Regions from separate parts of the Homo sapiens genome. Here regions 1, 3 and 4 are each linked to region 2. Evidence: promoter capture Hi-C in 16 types of primary human blood cells and fetal thymus (Javierre and others, 2016). All regions are on one chromosome and are shown on one strand. The core of a region is centred on a gene start or on the middle of the fragment in contact, and the rest is flanking DNA. Distances in the headings are between cores, read along the strand shown. Region 1 overlaps CD22 (CD22 molecule). Region 2 holds the start of KMT2B (lysine methyltransferase 2B). Region 3 holds the start of FFAR3 (free fatty acid receptor 3). Region 4 overlaps USF2 (upstream transcription factor 2, c-fos interacting).

Region 1 (4,897 bases), core at 1,100-3,599, 380 kb before region 2:
TGACCTGGAAAGCTTCATCCTGTTCCACAATCCTGAGTATAACAAGAACACCTCGAAGTTTGATGGGACAAGACTCTATGAAAGCACAAAGGATGGGAAGGTTCCTTCTGAGCAGAAAAGGGTGCAATTCCTGGGAGACAAGAATAAGAACTGCACACTGAGTATCCACCCGGTGCACCTCAATGACAGTGGTCAGCTGGGGCTGAGGATGGAGTCCAAGACTGAGAAATGGATGGAACGAATACACCTCAATGTCTCTGGTAAGGCCTTCGGGGAGCGGGTCCTCTGCTCTGGGCAGGGGTGAGTGGGAGGCAGGAAATACCTGACTCCTGGCACAGAGCTCACAAACCGAGCTTCCTGCAGAGCTCAGGCAGGGGACGCCAGCGGATGACGATGGCGATGCAGCAGCACTAGACAGAGCTGCGGGACCTCGGATGTCCCATCTGACCCTCAGTTCCTGCCCCTCTGGGACCTGGATTCCAAAGTTATCGGATCTCCTGATCTTTCCCTCTTTCTTTCTCACCATGTATTTTTCAGCTTTTGTGACAAACTCGTGTTTGGCCTTAGTACTGGAACCATCCAAGCACCGCATTCCTTTAGTGGGGTGGGTCTGCATGTAACCAGCCTCAGCTCTCCCCCAGGCTGGACCGCCCCCTTCAGACATTGGGGTCTGAAGCTGCATCGCTCACCCCAAACTTAGGGCTGCTCAGAGCTCCCTATAGAGGAAACTGGGTGTGGAACGGAGTAACCACACTCCCTAGGGCAGAGGCCCCAGACCTGTGTTTGATGGGTCAAATCCACCCCTACATGTGCAGTGCCATAACTGAGCCTGTGTTATAAAAATCATAAAATGTTTGTTTTACTTTTTTTCCTCTTCTTTTCCCCTTCCCCTTCCTTTCCCTTTTTATGAGACAGGGTCTCGCACTGTCATCACCCAGGCTGGAGTGCAGTGGCGCGATCTCAGCTCACTGCAGCCTTGATCTCCCGGGTTCAAGCAATCCTCCCACCTCCAAAGTAGCTAGGATCACAGGTGCATGCCACCATGCCCAGCTAACTTTTTAATTTGTTGTAGAAATGGGTCTTGCTATGTTGCCAGGCTGGTCTTGAACTCCTGGCCTCAAGCAATCCTCCTGCTTCAACCTCTCAAAGCATTAGGATTACAGGCATGAGTCACCGCACCCGGCCTGATCTTCTGATTTTTCAAGAGACGATGGAAATCTAGATTTTCCAGTGAAATCTCCCAGCATGTTAATGTTCATGGCAAGTTCTCATGAGCTCTTCAAGGTCAGATGACACTGTTGTTGAACCCCAAAGGCCAGGTTTGAGCTCCCGATGCGTAGTCAGCCAAACACTGACACCTCAGTGCTTAGAAGCTGAGATAGGATTATTTAATTTAGCCAAAGCAAGGGGACAGAAGAGAGAAACTCTCAAATCTGACCTGACTTTGAGCGTTAGTGGGGGCTTTTATGAGTAAAGTAGGTGTGCAGGAGGTGACCTCCCGATCGTCAAAGCTGTTGTGCCCCTCGGCTCATCAAATTTCTGGATGTCATCAAGGAGGTCTGTGTGACCTAAGGATCATTGTTCTTTGAAAGAGAGACAAGTTCATTTATCTTGCAGGCAGCTGCCAGGGAGTCAGGATGTAAGTTAAACAATTATGAGTGAATTAATGGTTACCTGCTACTGAAATGACCAAATGTAACTAATCATGCATGGAGGAAGGAAAGGACAAAGAGAAAAGAAAAGAAGTAAAACGAACATCTTATAATTTTTATAACATAGGTTCAGTTATAGCACTGCACATGTAGGGGTGGCTTTGACCCATCAAACACAGGTGTGGGGGGCCCCTGCCACAGGGAGTGTGGTCACTCCGTTCCACACCGTTTCCCGGATGGGCAGTTCTGAGCAGCCTTAAATTTGGGGTGAGCAATGCAACTTCAGACCCCGCTGTCTGAAGGAGGTGGTCCAGCCTTGGGGAGAGCTGAGGCTGGGTGCACACAGACCCACTCCACTAAAGGAATGCGGTGCGTGGATGGCTGCAATACTGAAGGAAGCCATGAAAGTAACACAAGTTTGTCAAAGCTGAAAAGTCCGTGAACTAAACTGATAAAATTCACTTAGAGGTGGTGGGAATAGGCCGGGCACGGTGGCTCACGCCTGTAATCCCAGAACTTTGGGAGGCCGAGGCAGGCGGATCACAAGGTCAGGAGATCGAGACCATCCTGACTAACACAGTGAAACCCTGTCTCTACTAAAAATGCAAAAAGTTAGCCAGGCGTGGTGGCAGGCGCCTGTAGTCCCAGCTACTCAGGAGGCTGAGGCAGGAGAATGGCGTGAACCCGGAAGGTGGAGCTTGCAGTGAGCTGAGATCACGCCACTACACTCCAGTCCGGGCGACAGAGCGAGACTCTGTCTCAAAAAAAAAAAAAAAAAAAAAAGAGGTGGTGAGGTGGTGGGAATAGAACTTTGCAATCATTCAGAAAGCAGACATCCGGCAATGAGCATGAAAGAAAAGTAGATCACAGTTCCCAAGGAGGCTTAGTGTGGTCAAGGCCTTTCAGAGGGGATTTCGGGTGAGCAAAAGTGATTCAAAGTGGAGAAAAGCAGGACTGCGTTGGGTGCAGTGGTTCCCGCCTGTAACCCCAGCACTTTGGGAGGCTGAGATCGGAGGATCGTTTGAGCCCAGGAGTTTGAGACCAGCCTGGGTAACATGGCAAGACCCTGTCTCTACAAAATGTTTAAAAAACTAGCTAGGTGTGGTGGCACATGCCTGTAGTCCCAGTTACTCAGGGGGCTGAGGTGAGAGGATTGCTTGAGCCTAGGAGGTTGAGGCTACAGTGAGCTAGGATTGCGCCACTGCACTCCAGCCTGGGTGACAAAGCAAGACCCTGTCTCTAAAGAAAAAAAGAGGCCGGGTGTGGTGGCTTACACCTGTAATCCCAGCACTTTGGGAGGCCAAGGCGGGAGGATCACTTGAGGTCAGGAGTTCAAGACCAGCCTGGCCAACATGGCGAAACCCTGTCTCTACTAGAAATACAGAAAAATTAGCTGGGTGTGGTGGTGGGCACCTGTAATCCCAGCTACTCGGGAGGCTGAGGCAGGAGGATCACTTGAACTGGGGAGGTAGAGGTTACAGCGAGCCAAGATCGCGCCACTGCACTCCAGCCTGGGTGACAGAGGGAAACTCCATCTCAAAAAAACAACAACACAACAACAACAACAATAACAACAAAAAAACAAAGCAGGACTGGAGAGAGGTGGAATGAAGTGGCAAGGGGTTCCTGAGGGGTGATTTGGGACAGGACATCTAAAGCCAGGTGTACGCTCACGTCCTCAGTCCCCCAGGCTCCTGCACGGGCTCTGTTCTTTTGCAGAAAGGCCTTTTCCACCTCATATCCAGCTCCCTCCAGAAATTCAAGAGTCCCAGGAAGTCACTCTGACCTGCTTGCTGAATTTCTCCTGCTATGGGTATCCGATCCAATTGCAGTGGCTCCTAGAGGGGGTTCCAATGAGGCAGGCTGCTGTCACCTCGACCTCCTTGACCATCAAGTCTGTCTTCACCCGGAGCGAGCTCAAGTTCTCCCCACAGTGGAGTCACCATGGGAAGATTGTGACCTGCCAGCTTCAGGATGCAGATGGGAAGTTCCTCTCCAATGACACGGTGCAGCTGAACGTGAAGCGTGAGTCTCCCCGGCATGCCTGTGGGAAGGGCAAGGTCTGTGTCACCTTCTCCCCAGCCCCGCAGGGGGCATGCACCCAGGGCAGGGGGAAGCCTGCACAGACGGCGGCATCCTCCAGCCCTGGTCACGCCGCCTTGTCAGCCCTGGTGTTTCGGGAAAAAGATTTGCTCTAGCCTAACAGAATAAAATGGTCCATCCTCAAGCCATGACATGAATTGGGGATTATCTGGTTAGGTCTTTTTGTTCCCCTCTTGGTGGGGATTTTTTTCGCATCATTATCTTGTGCCTCATTCATTCAATAAATACGTATCATGAACCTACTAGGTACCAGGCCTTATTACGGCTGCCAATGGGGGGCATGGGGCGGTGGGCAGGGTGCAGCAGTGAGCAAAACTCTTGCCCCACGCGGAGCCAGCGCTGCAGTGAAAGAGACAGACAACAAATGGATTACCAAAGAAATACAGAGCATGAGCCAAGACATTAGAATCTGGAACAAAGCAATGTTAACAAAGAAATATACAACACTATTGTAGGTAGTGATATGTGTGTTAGGAAAAAAATAAGGCCGAGAGAGGGGAGTGATGGAGAGAGACCTCTCTAAGAAGGTGAGCACTTAGGCCGGGTGCGGTGGCTCACGCCTGTAATCCTAGCACTTTGGAAGGCCGAGGCGGGGGGATCACAAGGTCAGGAGATCGAGACCATCCTGGCTAACATGGTGAAACCCCATCTCTAGTAAAAATACAAAAAATTAGCCAGGCATGATGGCAGGCGCCTGTAGTCCCAGCTACTTGGGAGGCCAAGGCAGGAGAATGACATGAACCCAGGAGGCGGAGCTTGCAGTGAGCTGAGATCGCACCACTGCACTCCAACCTGGGTGACGAGTGAGACTCCATCTCAAAAAAAGAAAAAAAAAGAAGGTGAGCACTTAAGCTGACTGGAACGGAGGGAGTGGCTGAGGCCGGCACATATTTGGGAGAGGAGGATTTCAGGGAAAGAGAAGGGCAGGTTCAAAGCTTTGAGGCAGCAGCTGGGTGGGAGGACCTCAGAGGCTGAAGTTCACCGCCTCTGAGGGCCACATGGTAGGACAGGAGGCAGGAGATGGAGCAGGACTCTGGATCCCGAGGGCTGAGGTGAGGGTTTGGGATTCTATGCAAAGCACAGAACCCGCTCGTGGTTTCCAGCAGGATTGGCGAGGTCTGGTAGATGGTGTTAGGAACCCT
Region 2 (5,369 bases), core at 404-2,903:
CTGAGTCTCCACCTGTGTGCCCGGTTCCCGCGCAATCCCCTAGCCCCGTGGCCCGATCCACCCCTAACTTGGCCAGCTTTCGCCGCCTTCTTCCTTCCTTCACCGGCCTCCCCTTCCGACCGCTCTAGGAGAGAAGCCCTTCTCCTGTAGCCTTTGTCCTCAGCGCTCCCGGGACTTCTCGGCCATGACCAAGCACCTGCGGACACACGGGGCCGCTCCGTACCGCTGCTCCCTGTGCGGGGCCGGCTGTCCCAGCCTGGCCTCCATGCAGGCGCACATGCGCGGTCACTCGCCCAGCCAACTCCCGCCCGGATGGACCATCCGCTCCACCTTCCTCTACTCCTCCTCGAGGCCGTCTCGGCCCTCGACCTCTCCCTGTTGTCCTTCTTCCTCCACCACCTGACGGGGTGTCGGTAGCGTCTTAGCCAAGAGTCCAATTAAAGAACGAAAAGCGGGCCGGCTCGGCTTCTGACCTGGCACCGCTGCTACGGCGGCCTAGCAAATTCCGCCCCAGAAGCGCCCCAGGAAGGGCGCCGAGTGCCCTCTCCTGGACGATCGCGGGTCGCAGAAGCCCAGGCCAGCGAGCCCTACAGAGTGAGGACACTGAAGTGTGCAGGAGCGAAGGTTAACAGTAGGGGAGATTGTCGATCTCATCACCATAATAAAGAGTTTCCTGTGCCCTCCCTTCAGGACTAGAAAGCCGAGTTTAGTCTGTGCACACCCCCGCCCACGCCCCTTGTCCTGTAGCGGCCCCTGGTGGCCCTGCGTCCGCTGTCCAGCGGGATGGACACTTCTTCCACCCCCGAGGCGCCCCGTCCTCCCCAGGAGGCAGCCGGCCCCGAGGACTCGGTGTCCGGGCACACCTTGCGGCATGCCGGTCCTGGACTGGTGGGGGCTGTGCGACCGCAAGTCACTCGCCCCTTCCACTGCAATCCACGGCGCGCGGAGTCTGATCTGGGAACGCTCGGCCCGGGAGAGAGAGGAACGCGTGCTCCGACCCTGCTTTCGGCCACCCGCCTCCTCTCCGGGAGCACACGGACCCCGAGACCGCGGCCTCTCCGGCGTCTTCCCTCCACACCGTGCCAAGCCGCCGCCAGGTCGCGCCTGGAACGGAGACTGACTATGCTTTCCACCGCTCCTTCTCCAGCCCACGCCTCCTGCAGCCGCGAACTGCATTTCCCAGGGCCTCGGGGGTCCCGGGGCCCGAGCCCGCGGCACCCTGGGAGTGGTAGTCCACGCGGGCCGCCGGCCTAGCCAAGAACAATGGGAGGAGCCTGGGGCTAGGACCACACCTCCCGGAGACCCGGCAACCCGCTTTCCGGGTCCTGGCCGGGAACCCCGCCGTCCCGGCCCTCGCGCCCTGGCTGCCGGCGGAAGAAGCGAGGCGTCCGGACTACATTTCCCGGAGGCCCCCGCGGTTCGCCCCTCTGCGGCCGCGACGCGGGGGTCTGTGCTCCCCAGGTGCGGTCCGAGGGCGCCGGCCGGCCGCGGACTCCCTCTCCCGTGGTGCCCTGCGCGTGGCCGGCCCGGCCCCCGGTCTCCCGCGGCGGCGCTGGTTGTTGTCGTGCGCCGCGGCCGCCCCGCCCCGCCCCCGCTCTCTCCCCTCCCCCCGGCCCTGCGCACGGGCCGCCCCTCCCCCCGCCTCCCCGGCCCCTCTCACGGTGCCAAGATGGCGGCGGCGGCGGGCGGCGGCAGTTGCCCCGGGCCTGGCTCCGCGCGGGGCCGCTTCCCGGGCCGGCCGCGGGGCGCCGGCGGGGGCGGGGGCCGCGGCGGACGGGGCAACGGGGCCGAAAGAGTGCGGGTAGCTCTGCGGCGCGGCGGTGGCGCGACGGGGCCGGGCGGAGCCGAGCCCGGGGAGGACACGGCCCTGCTCCGTTTGCTGGGGCTCCGCCGGGGCCTGCGCCGGCTCCGCCGCCTGTGGGCCGGCCCGCGGGTCCAGCGGGGCCGGGGACGGGGTCGGGGCCGGGGCTGGGGCCCGAGTCGAGGCTGCGTGCCGGAGGAGGAGAGCAGTGACGGGGAATCCGACGAGGAGGTGAGGCGGTTGGAGGCGTCCCCGGCGCCGGGTGGGGCGGAGGCCGGGGCTTCCAGGGGTCTGGGTTGTCCCGGGGGCGGCGTGGGCAGGCCGGGTCCTCAGGGTTCCTTCGGAGAGACGGGGCACGGAGGGAGGGCGGCTGCATGCAGCTTCCGGGGGAAAGGGCCTCTGGAAGTGGGTAGAGAAGCCCCGGCTGCAGCCAGGCACTCGCGCCCGATGTCGGTCCCGCTGAAGTGTCTTGGGCCGATCCTTTTCGGCAGCTGGCAAAGCTAGGGCGGTGGAGGTTTGGGCGAGGAGGCAGTGGGGACTGCATGTCCAGCCAGTCGTGGTTGACAGCGGCAGCGTGGCCTTGGCAGACAGGTTGGAGCTGTCTGGGCTCTTACCTGTGGGCCGCCCCGCCGGGCCTCGCAACCTCCTGGTTTCTCCAGGGCCCCAGTTTCTCTTGGCATCTCAGGTAGAGTGGTGGAGGGCTTCCTCTTGGGGCTCGGGTTGAACAGGAGTGGGATGAAGGCCGGGACTGGGCACTCTAGCAGGTCAGAGCTCAGCTCAGGATTTCTCCCCCAGCCTTTCAGAACAGGCAGGAAGGTGTGGGTTGCGTTGCCCTGGACGGTTAATAACAACCTGAGAGCTCGCAGTGGAGCCTGTACGAAAGCCATCTGATGCCCTCCCCGCCCCTTCACTTGCGGGCCCCTGTTCCCAACTTAATGCAGAAATAAATTGTGGCCCGAAAGGGTGTCAGTGGAGGTCCCACTTTGGTCTGAATTGGACTCTGAAGGAATCTGAGTATGGGGCCTGCTGCCTTTCCTGAGGAGACCCTGTCGTCTTCTCTCTTGGGCCAGTGAACCATGGCTTTGGCTGTGCTGGTGTGGTCCGGCACTGGGGATCGGAGTTCGAAATACCTGGCGCCTCCATCCCTAGGGAGAGACCCTCTCTTCCACTACCCGCGACCTTTGAGTCTTTTTCGTTCTTTTTAAATAGGCAGGGGTATGCTAAGTGGGAACTGGGGATATTCCTCGATACCTCAGATGGAACGAGGGCTTTGGCACTGACTGCTGTTTCTCCCCTCCACCCCGGTCCCCTAAATCAGGAGTTTCAGGGTTTTCATTCAGATGAAGATGTGGCCCCCAGTTCCCTGCGCTCTGCGCTCCGATCCCAGCGAGGTGAGTGACGGGGGAACTCCACCTCTTTAGCGTCACAGGAATTTATCCTCGCCCTTCGTGTCAGCTCTTCCCTGTTCAACTAGCCTCTGTCAGTTGCCGAATGTGTTCTGTGTTCAGAGTCCAAGCTAGTCTGGGCAGCGGGGGAAACACACAAGCAAGACTTAGTCCCTGCCCTCCTGGAGCGCCTTCCTCTGTGTGTAGGGCTGGCTTGATCCATCTCCCCACAACTATTCTCCTTTTAGGTCGAGCGCCCCGAGGTCGGGGTCGCAAGCATAAGACGACCCCCCTTCCTCCTCCTCGCCTAGCAGATGTGGCTCCTACCCCCCCAAAGACCCCTGCCCGGAAACGGGGTGAGGAAGGCACAGAACGGATGGTGCAGGCACTGACTGAACTTCTCCGGCGGGCCCAGGCACCCCAAGCACCCCGGAGCCGGGCATGTGAGCCCTCCACCCCCCGGCGGTCTCGGGGACGGCCCCCAGGACGGCCAGCAGGCCCCTGCAGGAGGAAGCAGCAAGCAGTAGTGGTGGCAGAAGCAGCTGTGACAATCCCCAAACCTGAGCCCCCACCTCCTGTGGTTCCAGTGAAACATCAGACTGGCAGCTGGAAATGCAAGGAGGGGCCCGGTCCAGGACCTGGGACCCCCAGGCGTGGAGGACAGTCAAGCCGTGGAGGCCGTGGAGGCAGGGGCCGCGGCCGAGGTGGTGGGCTCCCCTTTGTGATCAAGTTTGTTTCAAGGGCCAAAAAAGTAAAGATGGGACAATTGTCCTTGGGACTCGAATCAGGTCAAGGTCAAGGTCAACATGAGGAAAGTTGGCAGGATGTCCCCCAAAGAAGAGTTGGATCTGGACAGGGAGGGAGCCCTTGCTGGAAAAAGCAGGAACAGAAGCTGGATGACGAGGAAGAAGAGAAGAAAGAAGAAGAAGAAAAAGACAAGGAGGGAGAAGAGAAGGAAGAAAGAGCTGTAGCTGAGGAGATGATGCCAGCTGCGGAAAAGGAAGAGGCAAAGCTGCCACCACCGCCTCTGACTCCTCCAGCCCCTTCACCTCCTCCACCCCTCCCACCCCCTTCGACATCTCCTCCACCCCCACTCTGCCCTCCACCACCACCCCCAGTGTCCCCACCACCTCTACCATCCCCTCCACCGCCTCCTGCCCAAGAGGAGCAGGAGGAATCCCCTCCTCCTGTGGTCCCAGCTACGTGCTCCAGGAAGAGGGGCCGGCCTCCCCTGACTCCCAGCCAGCGGGCGGAGCGGGAAGCTGCTCGGGCAGGGCCAGAGGGCACCTCTCCTCCCACTCCAACCCCCAGCACCGCCACGGGAGGCCCTCCGGAAGACAGTCCCACCGTGGCCCCCAAAAGCACCACCTTCCTGAAGAATATCCGGCAGTTTATTATGCCTGTGGTGAGTGCCCGCTCCTCCCGTGTCATCAAGACACCCCGGCGATTTATGGATGAAGACCCCCCCAAACCCCCAAAGGTGGAGGTCTCACCTGTCCTGCGACCTCCCATTACCACCTCCCCACCTGTTCCCCAGGAGCCAGCACCAGTCCCCTCTCCACCACGTGCCCCAACTCCTCCATCTACCCCAGTTCCACTCCCTGAGAAGAGACGGTCCATCCTAAGGGAACCCACATTTCGCTGGACCTCACTGACCCGGGAGCTGCCCCCTCCTCCCCCAGCCCCTCCACCTCCCCCGGCCCCCTCCCCACCCCCTGCTCCTGCCACCTCCTCCCGGAGGCCCCTACTCCTTCGGGCCCCTCAGTTTACCCCAAGCGAAGCCCACCTGAAGATCTACGAATCGGTGCTTACTCCTCCTCCTCTTGGGGCTCCTGAAGCCCCTGAGCCAGAGCCTCCTCCTGCCGATGACTCTCCAGCTGAGCCTGAGCCTCGGGCAGTGGGCCGCACCAACCACCTCAGCCTGCCTCGATTCGCCCCTGTGGTCACCACTCCTGTTAAGGCCGAGGTGTCCCCTCACGGGGCTCCAGCTCTGAGCAACGGGCCACAGACACAGGCTCAGCTACTGCAGCCCCTGCAGGCCTTGCAAACCCAGCTCCTGCCCCAGGCACTACCGCCACCACAGCCACAGCTGCAGCCACCGCCGTCACCACAGCAGATGCCTCCCCTGGAAAAAGCCCGGATTGCGGGCGTGGGTTCCTTGCCGCTGTCTGGGGTAGAGGAGA
Region 3 (4,921 bases), core at 2,233-4,732, 360 kb before region 2:
TCAACTATATAGTCTGTAATACGTGATGGGTGTCACGCTGAGTGTCTACAGTGAGTGTTGTCTCACTTCAGCTTCACACAACGCTGTGGTTTAGCCTTGCCACTGCCGTACGGATGAGCGGGTGTTCACTACACGAAGGTACTGGGCAGAGGAGCAAACACTGACTAAATTCTAGCCTGTGCTTTGCTCAACAAGCCACATGCCTGCCTTGCTTGCATCAAGGGAAGGAGTATTGTGTTCTAATTTGAAGAAATACACCAGCCACTCCTTAGGCAGCACTTGGTGCGGGATGGGCTCCTCTGGAAAGGGAGCACCTAATTTGCACAAAGGTGCTGCACCAGGTAGCTACGATCCTGGAATGGGATGAAGAAACTTGCCTAAGGCCCTACAGCAAGGAAGGGGTAAAAGCAGGATGTGATCCTTCCAAGCAGAACCCCCAAGAGCCAGGGGACATTTGGGAAACCTGGGGGTGTGGGGGTTAACCCTGTATTTGTGGTCCATTTCGCAAAGGATAGCATCCCACATCCATGAGAGGGAGGTCAGAAGGGAGTGGCTGTGGCTGTGAAGGAGACAGACACCTGGGCACCTGCTCTAAATTACAGCAATGCCATGCACATGATGATGTATTGGAGCACAACAAATGGCAGCCACCAGCTGGGGTGCACGCACCAATTTCTACAAATGAGCTCTGTTCAGGCTGAAATGTCTACGCATGCAAGGATTTTTCTTGTAATTGATGATATATCCCCAGCGCCCAGAAGACAGAGTGGCACGCAGTAGGTGCTCAGTAAATGTTCGCTCAATGAATGAATGAATGCCTCTACTAGCCTTCCAAAGAAAGTTCTATGTCTGTTTTATCAATATGGAAACAGGCCAGAGAAATTAAGTAACTTCTTTTGGAAGCCAGAAACAAGCCCGGCACTTGTGCAGTGACAACACCAGGGAATTTCAGTAAAAACCCAAACTCCACCCCAGGGAGCCCCAGTGCCTCCTCCCGCATCACAGGGTGCCAGGGCCCACTCTCTTTGACTCCTGCTCCATAGCCCCTGCTGGGTACTGGGCTGCTTCTCCCAGTTCCTCCTGCCTCCCCCCACTTAGGGCAAATCCAGTGCCTCCCTGGGGCCCAGGAGACTCAGTGTGATCCACCCCAGGCGCCTCTCACTCCTGTGAGACCCAAACCTCCTATCAGCTCCCCCAGCAGGCCAAGTCTGTGCACCCGTGACTCCCCTGCCCCAATGTTCCCTCCAGTGGCTCTTTGCCTCTTCAGTATCCACGTCTTCATGATCCTTCCCCTACTCCATCCCCCAAGCCCTCACCACCAAATGTAATGTAAACAGCATGACAGCAAAAACTTTTTGTTCACAACTGCGTGTTGTTTTTTTTTTTTTTTTTTTTTTTTAGACACAGTCTCACTCTGTTGCTCAGGATGGAGTGCAGTGACACAGTCATGGCTCACTGCAGCCTTGAATTCCTGGGCTCAAGCGATTCTTCCATTTCAGCTTCCCAAGTAGCTGGGACCAGAGGCACATGCCACTAAACCCAGCTAATTTCTTTTTTCTTTCTCTCTTTTTTTTTTTTTTTTCCCCTGTGGACATAGGGTCTCCTCATGTTGCCCAGGCTAGTCTCAAACAACCTGTGCTCAAGCAATCCTCCCACCTCAGCCTGCCAAAGTGCTAAAATTACGGACCTGAGCCACCGTACCCAGCCTACTGCTGCACTTTTAACAGCTTAATTGAGATATTATGTACATATCATCAAATTCACCAATGTTAAGTGTACAATTCAATGATTTTTAGTAAATTTACTGAGGTGTGAGTCCATTACCATCAGCTAGTTTTAGAACATTTTCATGACCCTAGTAAAGGATTTTACTTCATGTTCATTTAAACTTAATCTTGGGCCAGGCGGGGTGGCTCACGCCTATAATCTCAGCATTTTGGGAGGCTGGGGTGGACGGATCACCTGAGGTCAGTAGTTCGAGACCAGCCTGGCCAACATGGCGAAACCTCATCTCTACTAAACATACAAAAATTAGCCAGGCGTGGTGGCGGGCACCTGTAATCCTAGCTACTTAGGAAGCTGAGGCATGAGAATTTCTTGAACCCGGGAGGCAGAGTTTGCAGTGAGCCAAGATTGCACCATTGCACTCCAGCCTGGGCGACAACAAGACCCTGTCTCAAAAAAAAAAAAAAAAAAAAAAAAACAACTTAATCTTCATTTCTACCTCCATCCCCCAGACAACCACGAGTCTACTTTCTGACTCTATAACTTTGCCTATTCTGGACATATCATATAAATAAATGAAATCTGACAATATATGTACATGGTCTTTTACGTCTGGCTTGTTTCACTCAACATAAGGCTGTAGTGTGTATGGGTAGCTCATTCCTTTTCTTTGCCAAATAGAATTCCAGTATATGGATGTGCCACTTTTTTATTCACTCACCAGCTGATGGGCTGCCAGGTAACATTTCCACTGTTGGTGACTATGACCAACACTGCTGTGAACATTTAGGACTGAGTCTTTAAGTAGACCTGAGTTTCCACTTCTCTTAAGTAAATACCTACGGTGGAATTGTTGGATCGCATGGTGAATTTATGTTTAACTTTTTAAGCAACTGCCACCTGCTTTCCAAAGCAGGGACACCACCTCCCATTATTCTCACCAGCAGTGAATGAGGCCCCTATCTCTCTACATTCTCGCCGACCATAGGCATTGTCTGACTTTTTGCTTGTGGCCATTCTAGTGGATGTGAAATCATATCTCATTGTGCCCTGTGATTGTTTGAATGAACTAATAGATCACCTGTGAAACTGGACAGCACTTGGGTTTGAACCCTAGTGGTGACATTTCACAAGCTGTATCACCTGGAGCAAGTCACTTCCCTACGGTGAAGGACAAGGATTTTATGACATAAAAGCGTTGCCCTAGAAGCAGTGTCTGCTATGGATTATGTGCCCATGAAAAGGCAGCTGCTGTCATCATCGCCACCACCATTATTATTGTTATTATTATTACATTGTCACCCCAGAGATAATCCTGCACCAGTGACAGGGAAAATAGCAGCTGGCATCCGCTGCCTGCTCACGACCACACGCCAGGCTTCCGTCAAACCACTCAACATGTATTAGTAATCTTTTAATCGACCTACATATTGTTTTAATTTGCATGTGTTAATGCGTTGATCTATGAGATGGGTATTATGATGAGCTCTGTTCTGCAGGGGAGAAAGCAGAAACATGGAGAATTTAAGTCATTTCCCCCAAATCACAAAGTCAGGAAGAAACAGACCTCACGGAGCTCGCTCTCTGTCATTGCATCACACTTCCTGCCCTTACAAGGCAAATTGGATAAATGCCATTCTAGAGAAGCAGACAAAATTCAAGTGAAGAAGGGGAGAGGAAGACGTCGGCTGGGGCCTGCTTAGAGCATCCCAGCTGAGACTGCATGAGGAGGGAGGCACGCAGTTGTGGAATTTGTTCCCCTTTTAGCATGCTGACCAGCCCTGGCAACGGAGCTCAAGGCATCTATGTGCCACTGCTCAACAGTGAGTGACGTCATGGGCACGGCCAGGTCTTTATCAGTTCTGCCGGATAAATAGCCAACTGCACTAGGTCTGGAGAGACAGCAAGGTGCTGTGCGGCAGAGCATTTGGGGTCTCAAAGAAGCAGGTGAGCCTGGGCCCGAGGGGCTGGGTGGAGGAGCACCTTGGTGCTTCTCTGCTGGGGAAGGGACAGGGGACAGGGCATGCTCAGGAAGACAGGCAGGCTGACCCCGCCTGGAAGGCACCCAGAGACAAGAGGGGTGGGCGTAGTGACCTCGTGCCCTTTTAGGGGAGATGCTGCTGGCCAGAGGCCGTTAGGGCCCCCACTACCAACTCCATGTTACTCTCTCTCACCAGTGGCCACCACCATGGATACAGGCCCCGACCAGTCCTACTTCTCCGGCAATCACTGGTTCGTCTTCTCGGTGTACCTTCTCACTTTCCTGGTGGGGCTCCCCCTCAACCTGCTGGCCCTGGTGGTCTTCGTGGGCAAGCTGCAGCGCCGCCCGGTGGCCGTGGACGTGCTCCTGCTCAACCTGACCGCCTCGGACCTGCTCCTGCTGCTGTTCCTGCCTTTCCGCATGGTGGAGGCAGCCAATGGCATGCACTGGCCCCTGCCCTTCATCCTCTGCCCACTCTCTGGATTCATCTTCTTCACCACCATCTATCTCACCGCCCTCTTCCTGGCAGCTGTGAGCATTGAACGCTTCCTGAGTGTGGCCCACCCACTGTGGTACAAGACCCGGCCGAGGCTGGGGCAGGCAGGTCTGGTGAGTGTGGCCTGCTGGCTGTTGGCCTCTGCTCACTGCAGCGTGGTCTACGTCATAGAATTCTCAGGGGACATCTCCCACAGCCAGGGCACCAATGGGACCTGCTACCTGGAGTTCCGGAAGGACCAGCTAGCCATCCTCCTGCCCGTGCGGCTGGAGATGGCTGTGGTCCTCTTTGTGGTCCCGCTGATCATCACCAGCTACTGCTACAGCCGCCTGGTGTGGATCCTCGGCAGAGGGGGCAGCCACCGCCGGCAGAGGAGGGTGGCGGGGCTGTTGGCGGCCACGCTGCTCAACTTCCTTGTCTGCTTTGGGCCCTACAACGTGTCCCATGTCGTGGGCTATATCTGCGGTGAAAGCCCGGCGTGGAGGATCTACGTGACGCTTCTCAGCACCCTGAACTCCTGTGTCGACCCCTTTGTCTACTACTTCTCCTCCTCCGGGTTCCAAGCCGACTTTCATGAGCTGCTGAGGAGGTTGTGTGGGCTCTGGGGCCAGTGGCAGCAGGAGAGCAGCATGGAGCTGAAGGAGCAGAAGGGAGGGGAGGAGCAGAGAGCGGACCGACCAGCTGAAAGAAAGACCAGTGAACACTCACAGGGCTGTGGA
Region 4 (4,699 bases), core at 739-3,238, 440 kb before region 2:
TCTTGGTACTGCAGGAGCTTATCCCAGAGTCACAGACTCAAATGCCTGCAGGGGCCTGAGGGAGGGAGGTGCACTTGGCATCTCAGGAAGGGGTGTGTGGCTGGGTGTGGTGGCTCCCGCCCGGAATCCCAGCACTTTTGGGATTACATTTTGGCCAAGACGGACGGATCACTTGAGCCCAGGAGTTTGAGACCATCCTAGGCAATGTGACAAAACCCTGTCTCTACCAAAAAAATTAAAAATTAGCCAGGCCTGGTGGTACATGCCTGTAACAGTCCCAGCTACTTGGGAACCTGTGGTGGGAAGATGGCTTGAGTCCGGGAGACAGAGGTTGCAGTGAGCTGAGATTACCCTCCAGCCTGAGCAACAGACCCAGACCTTGTGTCAGAAAAAGATAGGAAAGGTTGTGGGGGGCCCCCAGTGATCTGGGGCATGTGTGCGCTGCCTGAAGGGTGGCCCTTGCCCAGTGCCTTCCCCTTGCTGCCCTGTCAGAATCTAGGGCCACTGTTGCCAGAAACTCTGAGAAGCTAGAAATCGAGACTTATGTGAAATCTGATTTTTAGGTGCCAGATTAGATTGCTTTTTCCGTTTCATTGATTTCTACTCTTAATGTTACTAATTCATGCTTCTACTCACTTGGTTTTTTGTTTGTTTGTTGTTTTGTTTTGAGATGGAATCTCGCTCTGTCACAGTGGCGCAATCTCAGCTTACTACAACCTCTGCCTCCCCGGTTCAAGTGATTCTCCTGCCTCAGTCTCCCAAGTAGCTGGGACTACAGGTGCCCGCTGCCACACCTAGCTAGTTTTTGTATTTTTGGTAGAGACGGGGTTTCACCATGTTGGCCAGGCTGGTCTCGAACTCCTGGCCTCAGGTTATCCACCTGCCTCAGCCTCCCAAAGTGCTGGGATTACAGGAGTGAGCCACTGCACCCGGCCCCTTCTACTCACTTTGGATTCAATTTGCTAGGTTTCATGCTTTAGCTTCCCTGGCACACCCCAACCCCAGCTTTTTAAGGTAATTCTTTTTTTTTTTTTTTTTCCAATTTTCTACTAAAATCTTTATTTTACAGGATTAATGTTTCACAGCAGGGATTGAGATGATTCTTAACCTTTCTCTTTGCTTAACAACATTTAGAGTTGCCAGTTCACTCCAGCATCACTTTAGCTACATCCCACTGGGATATGTTGTTTTTGTTATCATTCAGTTTAAAGTGTTTTCCAATTTTCCTTGTGATTTCTTCTTTGACCTTTCTGTTATTTGGAGGCAGGTTGCTTAATTTCCAAATATTTGTGGGTTTTTCAGATATCTTTTTGTTATTGATTTTTAATTTAGTTCTGTTATGGTCAGAGAACATACTCTGTATGATTTCAGTTCCTTGAAATTCGATGAGACTTACCCGACGGGCCCGAATGTGTCCTAGCTTGGCGGAAGCTTCTGGGGCATTGACGAGGACAGGTGTCTGCTGCTGTCAGGCAGAATGTCCCCCCAGGTCAGTGAGGTCAGGCTGGTTGAGTGTTCAGGCTTTCTATTCTGATTTTTGTTGTTGTTGTTTACTTGTTCCACCAATCAATGAGAAAGATGTCCATGTCTCTCACTATATTTGTGGATTTGTCCATTTCTTCCTTCAGTCCTGGCAGGTTTCGCTTCTGAATTTTCTCTTTTTTTTTTTTTTTTTTTTGAGACAGAGTCTCGCTCTGTCACCCAAGCTGGTGTGCAATGATGTGGTCTCGGCTCACTACAACCTCCACCTCTTGGGTTCAAGCAATTCTCGTGCTTCAGCCTCCCAAGTCGCTGGGATTATAGGCATGCACTGCTATGCCTGGCTAATTTTTGCATTTTTAGTAGAGCCGGGGTTTCGCCATGTTGGCCAGGCTGGTCTCAAACTCCTGGCCTCATGTGATCCACCCTCCCAAAGTGCTGGGATTACAGGCGTGAGCCACCCCACCCAGCTTCTGAATTTTAAGTTTCCTATGGAGTAACTGAAGTGCTTCTGTGGAATGAACGTGGCCTTGGTCCTAATGGGTCTTCCTGTATTTCAAATGTGCCATGATGGTCTTCCGAAGCCACAGGCTGGACAGCATTACCGCCTGCTAATGTCAGGGCCTGGATTCAAGGGCCTGGGACTCTGGAGGAGGAGGAGATGCGGTCCTGACCTGCGAGCAGAGCACACAAGGCCTTGACAACCGATCTTTACAACCTTTTCCCACCCCTGCATACCCTGAAATGGTTTTCAGGCCACCATTTCTGGGATCTTCCCAGCTGCCTGCCTTAGAGTCTTTCTCTCAGAAACCAGCCCGAATGTTTCCTGGATCTCTGAGGATTCATCCCACCCCCATTCCCATGCAGAGGCCATGGCTCGGCGCCTGGCGTTCCCGAGGCACTTTGTACCATCTTCAGTGATGACACGAATGCAATGGGGTTAGTGCCACTTGCCCACAGTGGTGCTGCGAGTGCCCATGGGGCGCACCGGGGCTGCTTCCACCCTGGACCCCAGCCTGGCGGAGGGCCTGGCACATAGTAGGGCGGGGAGTAGGTGTGTAAGAAGTAAGCTTGCTCTGGAGAGGATGTACCTGCAGCCGGCGCCCAGCTCTCGAGAGGACTGTGGGAGGGCAGAGGCTGAAACGAGGCCGCCTGCCGAGTTCCTCCACAGACCCCTGGGCGAGGAGCGCTCTGCTGGGGACTGCGCCAGCGGTGCCTCCAGGCCTGGACTCTCAGCTCCGCTGCTGCTTTTGGCCAGAGTTCCCAAAGGCGGGTGTGGTTGTCTTTGGTGGGAAGGTTCAGCGCACCGCGATAGTAATAGGGGAGCAAGCACTCGCTGAGCCCAGTGCAGGGCCTGGACCGTGCTCCATAGCAAGCACTGATCTTGGGCTATTGGTTTTGGAGGAAAGAGGGAGCACAAGGATGGAAGGGGCCAGGGAAGAGAGGTCACGGTGGGAGAAGGAGAGTCCGCATCCATCGGAGGGTTTGTCACTCAGGCCTGAGTGGGAGGCACTGGAGGCAGGGAGAGGCCAGTCAGCAGCATGCGGCCACAGCCCAGAGAAGCCAGAGGGGTTTGCTGGTGGGTGGGCCCCAGCCTTTTCAAGGGAACGGCAGGTCTGGGGAGCTGCCGATCTCGGGGTGTGAGGGTAACGGGCAGGCTGTGGCCCACCCCTCCTTCTCAGGCTCACTGGACCCCTGACCGGTTTCATCACCATTATCCAAGGCTTTGAAAAGACCCCCTGGCCTTCCTGCCACATGTGCCCTAGCTATAGGGCTTCGTTCCCCTCCACAAATGGTGCAGACAGCATGAGCCACCCTGGCAGGGGGCTGGGGGTCCGTGGGGTAGGAGTTGGGGGTAGCTGAGCGTTCTTTCCTGTCCCCACGGTGCCTGGTGCTGGGGCTTGGCAGCCAGGGTTGGGACAGCCTGGCTTTAGCAGGTCCTGAGTCAGGGGTCTCAGGCTCCGCAGCACACAGTCCCCAGGCAGGTGTCAGGATGGGATGTGGCCAGAGAAAGGCATGTGCTCTGTCTGGGGATAGCTGCCACCCAGCTGACACAGTTGGCATGAGATTGTGGAGTTTTATGGAGTAAAATCACAAATCTGGGTTTTTTAAGTAAAACCTTCTATGAGTTGCCATCTCTGGCCTTCAACATAGGATTTGGGTCTTTCCTGGGTGAGCTGGTGCTTTGTGGGCCAGGCCCTGGGAGCTGCAAGTACCAGTTGGGATCTGCCATTGCCCTGTGGAAGGATTTTAAGCAGGGGTGAAACATGGTCAGACTTGGATTTAGAGATGAGGAAAAAAAACAAAATCACGGTGCCAGAGTCTCTGGGGAGACTGGAGAATGCAGTGCAGGGGCCGCAGGAGCCAAAAAGGGGCACTGGTCCTGCGAAGAGTGGCTCTGTCCATCCCTGCCTTCCAGTATGTGCCCACTGTGACCAGAGCTCCATTTCTCAAAAGAAGCCAGTGATGCCAATTACCATGAGAAATTTCCTTATTTTTAACTGTCGATTAAAATTTGTACAAGTATGGTGGGGCAGGCCTGCAAAATGATCTCCAAGTGCCTGGCCTTTGATGCCCGTCCTAAAAGCATGTGTGGCACTGGAGGGCCCACGTTTCTTTGTTCCTCTTGAGAAGCTGGGGTGGGGGCCGGCTGGGCTCAGGGTGCGGCCCCTCACTTCCCAGGGCTGTGGTCTCGGTGGGGCCTGCACTGTTCCTGGGTGTCCTTGGGCTGAGCCTCTGCCCTGTGAGGACGGCCGCTCAGGCATGATCCGTCAGCGAAGCCGTGGCTGTGACTCTGTTTTCCGCAGTGGAGCGGAGGCGGAGGGACAAGATCAACAACTGGATCGTCCAGCTTTCGAAAATCATTCCAGACTGTAACGCAGACAACAGCAAGACGGGAGCGGTGAGCACCCCGGACCCTCAGTGTCTGCGGTGGTCCCGGCCCCCGACCCTTGCATGCAGAAAGTCCAACAGCCATGGGGCTCGGGAGTCATCCCTGGGGTGGAGGCCGGTGGGCGGTGCCTGCCCTAAGGCTCCTGGTCCCCTCGCCCCCCAGAGTAAAGGAGGGATCCTGTCCAAGGCCTGCGATTACATCCGGGAGTTGCGCCAGACCAACCAGCGCATGCAGGAGACCTTCAAAGAGGCCGAGCGGCTGCAGATGGACAACGAGCTCCTGAGGCAGCAGGTGGGTGCGGGGCCTGGAGCGGGTCAGGGCCCAGGA

What was found. The method cuts DNA at HindIII sites, captures the fragments that hold promoters and counts their contacts. A CHiCAGO score of 5 or more calls a contact.
Region 1: a contact is called between a fragment that was not itself captured here and the fragment with the promoter of KMT2B in region 2, in 1 of 17 cell types (neutrophils). The highest score is 5.9, in neutrophils.
Region 3: the fragment with the promoter of FFAR3 here is called in contact with the fragment with the promoter of KMT2B in region 2 in 3 of 17 cell types (M0 macrophages, monocytes and neutrophils); the score reaches 5.7 in M0 macrophages.
Region 4: a contact is called between a fragment that was not itself captured here and the fragment with the promoter of KMT2B in region 2, in 1 of 17 cell types (neutrophils). The highest score is 5.5, in neutrophils.

What each region holds. Positions count from the first base shown.
Region 1 is chr19:35,332,665-35,337,561 of GRCh38, forward strand. It overlaps CD22 (CD22 molecule), which reads left to right. Exons shown (of 14, transcript NM_001771.4): 3 at 1-260; 4 at 3,372-3,677. Among named protein-coding and RNA genes, the nearest start is that of CD22, 5.9 kb to the left of the region's middle. RefSeq lists a silencer at 641-850 and enhancers at 4,649-4,798, 4,839-4,897. The HindIII fragment of the contact is 4,678 bases long and covers 11-4,688 here.
Region 2 is chr19:35,716,350-35,721,718 of GRCh38, forward strand. It overlaps KMT2B (lysine methyltransferase 2B), which reads left to right and starts at 1,654. Exons shown (of 37, transcript NM_014727.3): 1 at 1,654-2,032; 2 at 3,120-3,192; 3 at 3,435-5,369. The coding sequence starts at 1,670. ZBTB32 (zinc finger and BTB domain containing 32) reads left to right here. Exons shown (of 7, transcript NM_014383.3): 7 at 129-689. The coding sequence ends at 403. RefSeq lists enhancers at 207-766, 319-598, 1,886-2,443 and silencers at 1,169-1,648, 1,729-1,778, 1,799-1,868, 1,909-1,988, 2,039-2,088. The HindIII fragment of the contact is 14,363 bases long and covers 1-5,369 here.
Region 3 is chr19:35,354,978-35,359,898 of GRCh38, forward strand. It overlaps FFAR3 (free fatty acid receptor 3), which reads left to right and starts at 3,483. Exons shown (of 2, transcript NM_005304.5): 1 at 3,483-3,672; 2 at 3,903-4,921. The coding sequence starts at 3,914. RefSeq lists a silencer at 52-151 and an enhancer at 4,804-4,921. The HindIII fragment of the contact is 8,969 bases long and covers 1-4,921 here.
Region 4 is chr19:35,274,412-35,279,110 of GRCh38, forward strand. It overlaps USF2 (upstream transcription factor 2, c-fos interacting), which reads left to right. Exons shown (of 10, transcript NM_003367.4): 8 at 4,287-4,381; 9 at 4,535-4,663. Among named protein-coding and RNA genes, the nearest start is that of HAMP, 5.8 kb to the right of the region's middle. The HindIII fragment of the contact is 1,118 bases long and covers 1,430-2,547 here.